Regions from separate parts of the Homo sapiens genome. Here regions 2 and 3 are each linked to region 1. Evidence: promoter capture Hi-C in human tissues and cell types (Jung and others, 2019). All regions are on one chromosome and are shown on one strand. Each heading gives the region's core, a stretch centred on a gene start or on the middle of the fragment in contact. The rest is flanking DNA. Distances are from core to core; before and after follow the strand shown. Region 1 holds the start of CCL13 (C-C motif chemokine ligand 13). Region 2 has its middle 270 kb from the start of LINC01989. Region 3 holds the start of LOC124903983 (a long non-coding RNA gene).

The links. The method cuts DNA at HindIII sites, captures the fragments that hold promoters and counts their contacts. A contact is called where the count stands out against the background at its distance.
Region 2: a contact is called between a fragment that was not itself captured here and the fragment with the promoter of CCL13 in region 1, in 1 of the 25 tissues and cell types used here (mesenchymal stem cells).
Region 3: a contact is called between a fragment that was not itself captured here and the fragment with the promoter of CCL13 in region 1, in 1 of the 25 tissues and cell types used here (mesenchymal stem cells).

Annotation. Positions count from the first base shown.
Region 1 is chr17:34,355,081-34,357,966 of GRCh38, forward strand. It overlaps CCL13 (C-C motif chemokine ligand 13), which reads left to right and starts at 1,400. Exons shown (of 3, transcript NM_005408.3): 1 at 1,400-1,522; 2 at 2,395-2,509. The coding sequence starts at 1,447. The HindIII fragment of the contact is 2,821 bases long and covers 473-2,886 here.
Region 2 is chr17:33,913,776-33,916,661 of GRCh38, forward strand. It overlaps a transcript of ASIC2 not described here. Among named protein-coding and RNA genes, the nearest start is that of LINC01989, 270 kb to the right of the region's middle. The HindIII fragment of the contact is 8,443 bases long and covers 1-2,886 here.
Region 3 is chr17:33,931,147-33,934,032 of GRCh38, forward strand. LOC124903983 (a long non-coding RNA gene) reads right to left here and starts at 1,500. Exons shown (of 2, transcript XR_007065719.1): 1 at 1,454-1,500; 2 at 1-231. It also overlaps a transcript of ASIC2 not described here. RefSeq lists an enhancer at 64-358. The HindIII fragment of the contact is 5,499 bases long and covers 1-2,886 here.

The sequences.
Region 1 (2,886 bases), core at 150-2,649:
TTTTTTTTCTGGGACAGAGTCCTACTCTGTCACTCAGACTGGGGTGCAGTGGTGCAATCTTGGCTCACTGTAACCTCGGCCTCCCAGGTTCAAGCAATTCTCCTGCCTCAGCCTCCCAAGTAGCTGGGATTACAGGCATGTGCCACCATGCCTGGGTAATTTTTGTATTTTTTTTAGTAAAGACAGGGTTTTACCATGTTGTCCAGGCTGCTCTAGAACTCTTGACCTCAAGTGATCCCCCCGCCTCAGCCCCTTTTTTCTTTTTTTTTTCATTTTCAGTTCAGGAGAGTTTTAGCTTAATTATAGGCTACAGAACCAGCTTTGGGCTTCATCTATCCTTTCTAATATTTACTGTTTCCTATTTCTCTAATCCTAGCTCTTTATTTCTTCCCTTTACTTTCACTGGGCTTATTTTGCTATAGTGGAATGCAGAGGGATGAGTATTCCAGGAAGGCACAAAAACTGTGCCAAGTCTTGGAGCTAGGGATGAGTGGGAAAGGGACATGTTCAACCATTTTAAGCCATTCCCTCCCCACCTCCCAGCTCCCAGATATGTGCCCCTCGCAGGAGGAGCCCAGGAATGGGCCAAACACCTCACTTCTTTGCTCTGAGGGCCACCCCAGCCCTCCCATCAACAGCTCTAGAAACCCAATGGTCCTTCCTGGAAACACGGGGCCTGCATCAATCAGAGGTGTTTGAACCATGTCCCTCTGGGCCTGAGGGGCAGAAGGGGACACAATATGTAATGTAAGGAGCCCCTGTCATCAGAAATCTGACTTAATCTGTTTCAGATATTAGACTTCCACATAAAAGTTGACTTGGAAAAAGACTTCTGCTGCTAAACAAAAGTTGAAACTGCCTTGGTGATAAAATATAAGCAGACCAGCTTTCTCTTCTAGCTTTCCCTCTCATTTCCCATAAGATTTTGGTCAAGTTATTTAATCTCTCTGCATCCGTTTCCTCTTCTATGAAATGGGCATGATAATAATGGTATGTACCTCCTCAAACTAAATATATAACGTGAACAGAGTCCTTAGCACAGCACTCTTTCTCTACAGGAGTTAATTTTCATTGTTTTTCTCTTTCCTGTTGGAGAAAGTAAGAAGAAAACAGCTCCTTTATGGCTTCCCATGGTGAATGGCTGGGGCGCGTCTGTGTCCCTTTCTCCTCTCTGGCTCCTTGTGGCCTGAACAGCCAGAAGGAAGCCATGCCATGCTGTTTCAGCCCTCAGCTTCCCTCTTGCATTTCCTAGAAAAGTCTTTGGTGCCCAGCTCCAGCTCAGCAGATTCAGGATCCCCCTTCATCATGACTTGGTCAACGCCCTGCTCAGGCCAAGGTCCTCTGAGAGTTCCAAGCTTCTCCACTCCCTATAAAAGGCCGGCGGAACAGCCAGAGGAGCAGAGAGGCAAAGAAACATTGTGAAATCTCCAACTCTTAACCTTCAACATGAAAGTCTCTGCAGTGCTTCTGTGCCTGCTGCTCATGACAGCAGCTTTCAACCCCCAGGGACTTGCTCAGCCAGGTAAGTCACCTCCCTTCGACTCTCCCTCTCTTTCCCTCTGTTTCTCTATTCAAGGAAGACCTAAGCCCGAGTGCTCCTCCACTTTTTTTTTAGATTGAGTCTCATTATGTTGCCCAGGCTGAAGTGCAGGGGTGCGATCTTGGCTCATTGCAACCTTCACCTCCCAGGTTCAAGCGATTCTCTTGCCTCAGCCTTCTGAGTAGCTGTGATTACAGGCACCCGCCATCACGTGCAGCTAATTTTTGTATTTTTAGTAGAGAAGGGGTTTCACTATGTTGGCCAGGCTGGTCTCAAACTCTTGACCTCAAGTGATCCTCCCGTCTCGGCCTCCCAAAGTGCTGGGATTACAGGCGTGAGCCACCAGGCCCAGCCAAGTGCCCCACTTCTAAGCCCACCAGAATAGTAAGGCTCCTCAGAGGTTCACTTTAACATCTAATTTTAAAGATAGAAAGCTGAAGCCCATGTTGGAGGCAGAAGGGACCCTAGCCATCCACCTCCAGGTTATTGCAGAGCAAGAATGAAACCTAAGCTTCTGACTCCAGATTTAGGGCCTTTTCTTTGACCTCATCTGATCGTCCCAAACTCTGCAGATCTGGGACCACACCCAGGACCTTTCCCACTGGCCTTGCCCGTGGCCTCCCCTAGATGGCTGTGACATGTCTCCACCATGCAGCTGAGCCTTTGAGATCCTGAGGCACATGTCACAGGTCCCACCTCACCTCAGGGTCTAGGGTGGGAGTGCTGGGCTTGGGGGTGAGTAAGATCTATTTCTTCCTCTTTGCTTTGCATCCCATACAGATGCTCCCTGCTGTATTCAAGCTGAGAAAAGCCTAACACATCCTCAAAGTCTTTTTCTTTGTAACTATTTCTAGATGCACTCAACGTCCCATCTACTTGCTGCTTCACATTTAGCAGTAAGAAGATCTCCTTGCAGAGGCTGAAGAGCTATGTGATCACCACCAGCAGGTGTCCCCAGAAGGCTGTCATGTGGGTAGAAAAATCCCTGCTCACCTGGCTCCTCCCCACTCCCACATTCCCCAATCCAAAGTTCTGCCCCAGGAGACAGACGTCAGACTGACTTGAGATCTTAGGATGAGATCTAGCCAGACTGTGTGATGCAAATCCTCCAATTTTGGCTGCACAACAGGTCCAAAGAGGACCTATAATTTCCCACACCTTGTTTCCTGGATGGGCACCAGCCCACACCCTTTAGCAGATGCCAGGATCAGTTTCCCAGGGGCAGCAAGAGCAGTGGCTGCCTCCAGAGACCCCTTCTGTCCACACACCTCCTACTTCCTGTCCTGGAGGGGTGCCCCTTCACCTGTAGTAGGTGGACCAGGCAGGTTTAGAACCCAGTGTGTCAT
Region 2 (2,886 bases), core at 194-2,693, 440 kb before region 1:
TAAATGGTAACCATCACTGTCATGTTGTAATTGTTGACGATACTTTTCGTATTTATTGAGCACCTACAATGTGCCACTCGACTAAGTGTTTAATACACACAATCTCATTTTAATTTTCCCAACAGTGCTGTGAGATAGATGCCATTAATTCTATTTTATAAATCAGGAAACTAAAACTCGGAGACTATGTCTGGGTTGTCCAGAAAATAGAGCTCAGAGCCAAGCTTACTTACTAAACTTTATCGCAGGGCGAGACCATAATCCCAGGGAATCATAAATAAGGGAAAGGGGGCGTAGAGTAGAGTAGGAAGAGAAGCAGTTTCAAGGTGATGCACAACTGAGCTGGCCACAACATTGCAAGAAAACACAACTGGTTGCTCCATCTCACAAGATGATGCTGGAGAGGCCATATAGGACATCTACATTGCAAACGGTCCATTGTGGGCTGGGCAGGTGAGAATTTACTGGCTGGTTTCTTCCAGGCTCCTGTCTTTCATTACGAAAGTTGGCCCTGTAGGGTGGTGACTCTGCAGTTCTCATTTATGTTATCCAGCCTCTCAGGGCAGCCAGTGGGGAAGCCAGAGCCTCTGTGAGTCAGTTGGGGTGGACCTGGATGCTGATGGTCTGTGGTTCCCTTCAATTCGTGTGCAATAGAGGCCCTGACAAAACCCAGTTCAGTCTCAGGGGAGCCTCGATGAATCTGCAGAGTTTGGGAATCAGGAGACAGAGATGGTGGCCAGAGTTTTACAACTGCAGGAACAGGCTAAGGGGTAGGTGGTGTCTTCTGATGGGGAAGCCAAACAAGCGACCAAGAATGAAGGCCATATGGGGCCACCTGGATGTGGGGTGGCACATAAAGAAGTTGAGGACACGCAGTGTTGTAGGGACCTGCTCAAGGTTACACAGACTGTATATAGCAGAGTTGGCATTCAAACCCAGGCCAGTCTGACTCTAAAACACTTTTATTTTTCAATGACCTCAAGATGCCTTCCATTGCTGAGATTTTAAGTAAGCTGGGAAAGGGAGCCATGGTTTTCTGAGCTGTCTGGCTCAGGGCCATGAGTAGATAAATGCTTACGAAGTAGTCACAGTTGATCGATCAGGTGACAAGAATGCCCATAGGCCTGTGTTGTTCTTTTCTATATCTTAAGAATAGATACTTTCGGAAGGCATGATCCATCATGTTTAGAACTCTTCATATGGTCTGCTGTGGCTGTCTTAACTCAACCTGAAGGGTTAGCACCAAACACAGCTGGCGTACGCAGGCAACATATGACTGGACAGTGCTCTGCCCTCACCTCGGCCTGCCAGATAGATGTCAAGGGCATCAGCAATGAAATTAAATGGCTCCATTTCCTTGAAGGGTTAGGAGGAACTTGGATTATTGGTGACAAGACCAATAATCCAAGAAGTGAGGCTCAATAGCTGTGCAAATCTGAGACCTGGGAGCAAGAAGACAATACACCTTTACAGGTGTGCCTGGCTTTAAGAAAGCCCATCATTTGCCAGGGGCTTCTCAGTTCTTTTGTATTTGTCCTTCCCCCATCTCAGAAGCATGAATGGGCCCCACCTCCCTCCAGGGCTGTTCCTGCTCTCTACCCCAGCCTTTCTTGGTTCTCTTGGAAAGTGAGTACTCCTTCAATTACTGCCCTGGCATCTCTCTCACCTTCAATGTCTTCCTACTTGCCTTGGGGTCCTCTTCTCAGCTTTCAGACATGTTCAGATTTATCCCATTTAAGATGACTTTTGCCCATTTCTCCTCAAGCTACAGCCCGTTTTTCTGCTTCTCAATTTTCTCAAATGAGCATCTATTGGCTCTTAATCACACACTCGATACTTAACTGTTTCAACACTAGTTTCCCTCTCACCAGTCTCCCGAAGTGCTTTCTGCAGAGGCCGCTGCAATAAACATCTAATGTTTCTGCCACTCCTCATAGCATGCATTTTCCCTTTTTCTACAGCGAAGAAACTGGAAAACTGACTTGAGGGTAAAGGATGCAAAGGGGTTTCATTGACTTCTAGGTTTCACTATTGACTAGCTGAGTGAAAGTCAAGAGGAGAATCAAGTTTGGGATTGAGGGTTGTGGGGAAGATGGCATAGGTGAGATTGAAGGCACACCAGGCCTGAGGCCCCGTGGGGACACTCAAGAGCATGATGTCCAGCACACTGTGAGGAAAGCAAAGCTGAAATCCCCAGAGGAGGGAGACTCAAAAGAGGATACCACAGGGTGTTTCTTCCTTCTTCCAGGGAGAAGAAGGGAGAATGCAGACTATGCCTACTTTCCTACCTCCTTGACTTTGCTTATGCTACTTCCTTTCCCTTTTCCATATTCCAATTCTCCTCCCAGATAACCAGTTCCTTTTTCACTCCCAACATATGAGATTTGGTTTGGCTAGGCATGCAACTCCAGGGTGGATAATATGATCTTGACCTGAGCCAGTTAGTGATCTGTGCAGGGATGGGCACATGAGACTTTTTCTGAGGCTGCTGAGACAAAGACCATTTCTCTTTGCTGTTGGATTTAAACCTGAGAGAAGAAAGGCCTTGGGCTACTAAGTACCGGTAGGTACTTAATACCACAAGGAGAGAGAGCTGGGCTGGGCATGAAGCCCACCCAGAGAGGTGGAGCTGAGAACTGGAGAGAACCAAAGTAGGATCCTGGTGACATCATCTGAATCCCTGAATCATGCCACACCTGATGACATCCCTATTTGCTAGTCTTTTCAATTTAACTCAGTCTTTTAGCTGAAGCCAGCTCACTGGGATTTATGTTATTTCCAGAAGAAAGAATTCTAGCTGATGCAGAAATCTAATACAATCATCAGTGACCTCTGAAATACCAAAATCAAGACTCTCTTCTTAGTCTCCTTTCTGAGTATGACCCA
Region 3 (2,886 bases), core at 161-2,660, 420 kb before region 1:
TTTATTCAGCTGGGAGCACCGGCGGACTCACGTCTCCAAAAACCGAGCTCCCCGAGCGAGCAATTCCTGTCCCTTTTAAGGGCTTACAGCTCTAAGGGGGTCCGTGTGAGAGGGTCGTGATCGATTGAGCAACCAGCGGGTACGTGACTGCGGGCTGCACGCACCGGTAATCAGAACAGAGCAGAACAGGCCAGGGATTTTCACGATGCTTTTCCATACAATGTCTGGAATCTATAGATAACACAAGCAGTTAAGTCAGGGGTTGATTTTTAACTACCAGGCCTGAAATGCAGCGCCGGGCTGTCTGACTACTGATTTCACTTCTGTCTTTTCTTTAACTCCTACTTTTTCTTTGAGGCAGAAATTGGTCATAAGACAATATGAGGGGTGGTCTCCTCCCTTACCTCTAGCTTGATGCAAAGGAGGGCTGGTATCCCTGCTTTAGCAAAGCACAGCGCTTCTCCACCCCTTAAGCTCTCTTAGGCAGCTGACAGCAGCTTATCAAACACTTGTTCTGTGTGTTGTCAACTGGGAGTGTTCTCAGGTTCCTCTAAGCCACCAGCTAGCCTGAAGGTGCAGTCTGGGAAAAGGACTGCTTTGCTGAATCCCTCTTTATGAGCTAGAAGGGCCTTCTGAACATGGGCCAGGCTCCATCAGTTTCAGAGCGGGAGGTGGTGGAGTGTATCTACTCAAAACTGCATGGGGAATGAGCGCTGTTCGGCCGTTCTCAACATTTCCTTTAAGAAAGTAATGTTGGCGCTGATTCCAGTAGACCTTTAAAAAGGCTCTTTATTCAAGTCTTAGAACTGATTAGATGAGAGCCATGCTGGGTCTGTCGGGCTCAATTTATATCCTCTCTACTTCTGGGCTCAATTTATATCCTCTCTGCTTCCCAAGAGGGAGCTGAGCCAGGCCAGGTAGGTTCCCCAGAATAGGCAGGGTCAATTCCAACGCCACCTTCCCAGGGTGATCTGGAATGGGTTCTTTCTCCCTCTCTCTCCCTTCACCAGGTGCTCCTGCAGAGGAACCTGGTGTCTTCCCCACCCCAGGCTGCAGGAGCTCTCTGTTCAATGCAGTATCCACTGGCCACATGTGGCTTTGAGCTCCTGAAACATGGCTGGTCTAAACTGAGATATGCTATAAGTGTACAGTACACATCAGATTTTGAAGACAGTATGACAAAAGGTGAAATATGTCATGAATATTGTTTATATTGATTGCATGTGGAAATGATAATACTTTGGATATATGAGGCTAAATAAAATATAGTATAAAAGCCAGGCATGGTGGCTCATGCCTGTAATCCCAGCACTTGGGGAGGCTGAGGCTGGCGGGTCACTTGAGGTCACCTGAAGTTGGGAGTTCGAGACCACCCTGACCAACATGGAGAAACCCTGTCTGTGCTAAAAATACAAAATTAGCCGAGCATGGTGGCACATGCCTGTAATCTCACCTATTTGGGAAGCTGAGGCAGGAGAATTGCTTGAATCCAGGAGGCGGAGGTTGCAGTGAGCCAAGATCATACCATTGCACTCCAGCCTGGGCAACAAAAGCGAAACTTTGTTTCAAAAAAAAAAAAAAAAAAAAAAAAAAAAATATATATATATATATATATAGTATGATAAATTAATTTCCCCTGTTTTATTTTTAAAATATGGTCACTGGAAACTTTAAAAGTGCCTTTGTGGCTTGCATTAAATTTCTATTGGGCAATGCTGTCCTAGAAGCATTTTAGACTGCAGAGGTTTAGAGATTTACAGCTGAGACTCTGGGTGAAGAGCAGGAATGAGAAAGATCAAGAAGGCAAAGATTCTGCCACTTCTCTGCTCAAAACTTTCTAAATTTTGATTCCTTCTGATTCCTTCCTCAAGACCTCTGAGGTCTCTAAGGCCCTGGAGGCCTTGCACAGGCTGGTCCATGTCCTCCCACCCTCGTATGTCTCCTGGAGCTCCAGTCAACCTGACCTTGCTTTTCAGCATAGCCAGCCATGCCCATCACAGGGCCTTTGCACATGCTGTTACTTCTGCCTAAAACACTCTCCCCTGGACAGTTGCATGCTTAGAAAGTCACCTCCTCAAAGAAGCCATCCCTGATTCACTTCCTCAATCCCAGTCAGAACCAATCACTATCCCTTCACCCTGCTTTGTTTTTCTTTAAAATTCTTATTACTCCCTGACATTGAATTGCATGTTTACTTTCTGTTTCCTCCAGACAGGGAGCCTCTGTCTCTTTTATTCACCGCAGTGCCTGGCACATACTGGATACTCAGAGAATGCTTGTTCAATGAACACAAACATCAATGCTGCAAGGCCAATGAGATTCAGCCATTTTTCAAATGAATAAGCTCAGGCTTGGAAAGAGGTGAGTACGGGACAGAGCAGGAATTGATTTCAGCGACTGCACCGAGCTGTGAGGGACAGTGGCTGGGTGACCTGGGAAGTCACCTCTTCTAGGACCTCATGCACTGGGAATGTGCCCTAATCCAGGGGATGAGGACCAACTTAGCAGGGAAGAAAATAAAACCAAGAGAAAAAGGCCACTCTGACTTGCTCTGGACATTTCCTGTGGGAAACAGATGTCAGGATTAAAAGGAAAGAGCAGGTGTGAGGTCTCACTCGTTCATACTCCGGCATCACAGAATCCTTTGAGGAGGCACGTGGGGCCAACCTAGACAGGCTATCAATAATCAAGGTCCTTCCAGATGCACGAAACAGGCCTTAGAGCCTCAGAGCTGCAGGAGATTTTCATGCCTGCCCCTTGGGCACATCCCAAGATCAGGAGCTCACTCCTTCCAAGGCAGCCGAGCTGTTAGTTTTTCTGTTCACTTTAATCAACAGAACGTATTTGATTCTTTCGGGTCAGCAGCGACTTTCTTGTAGTTGATGT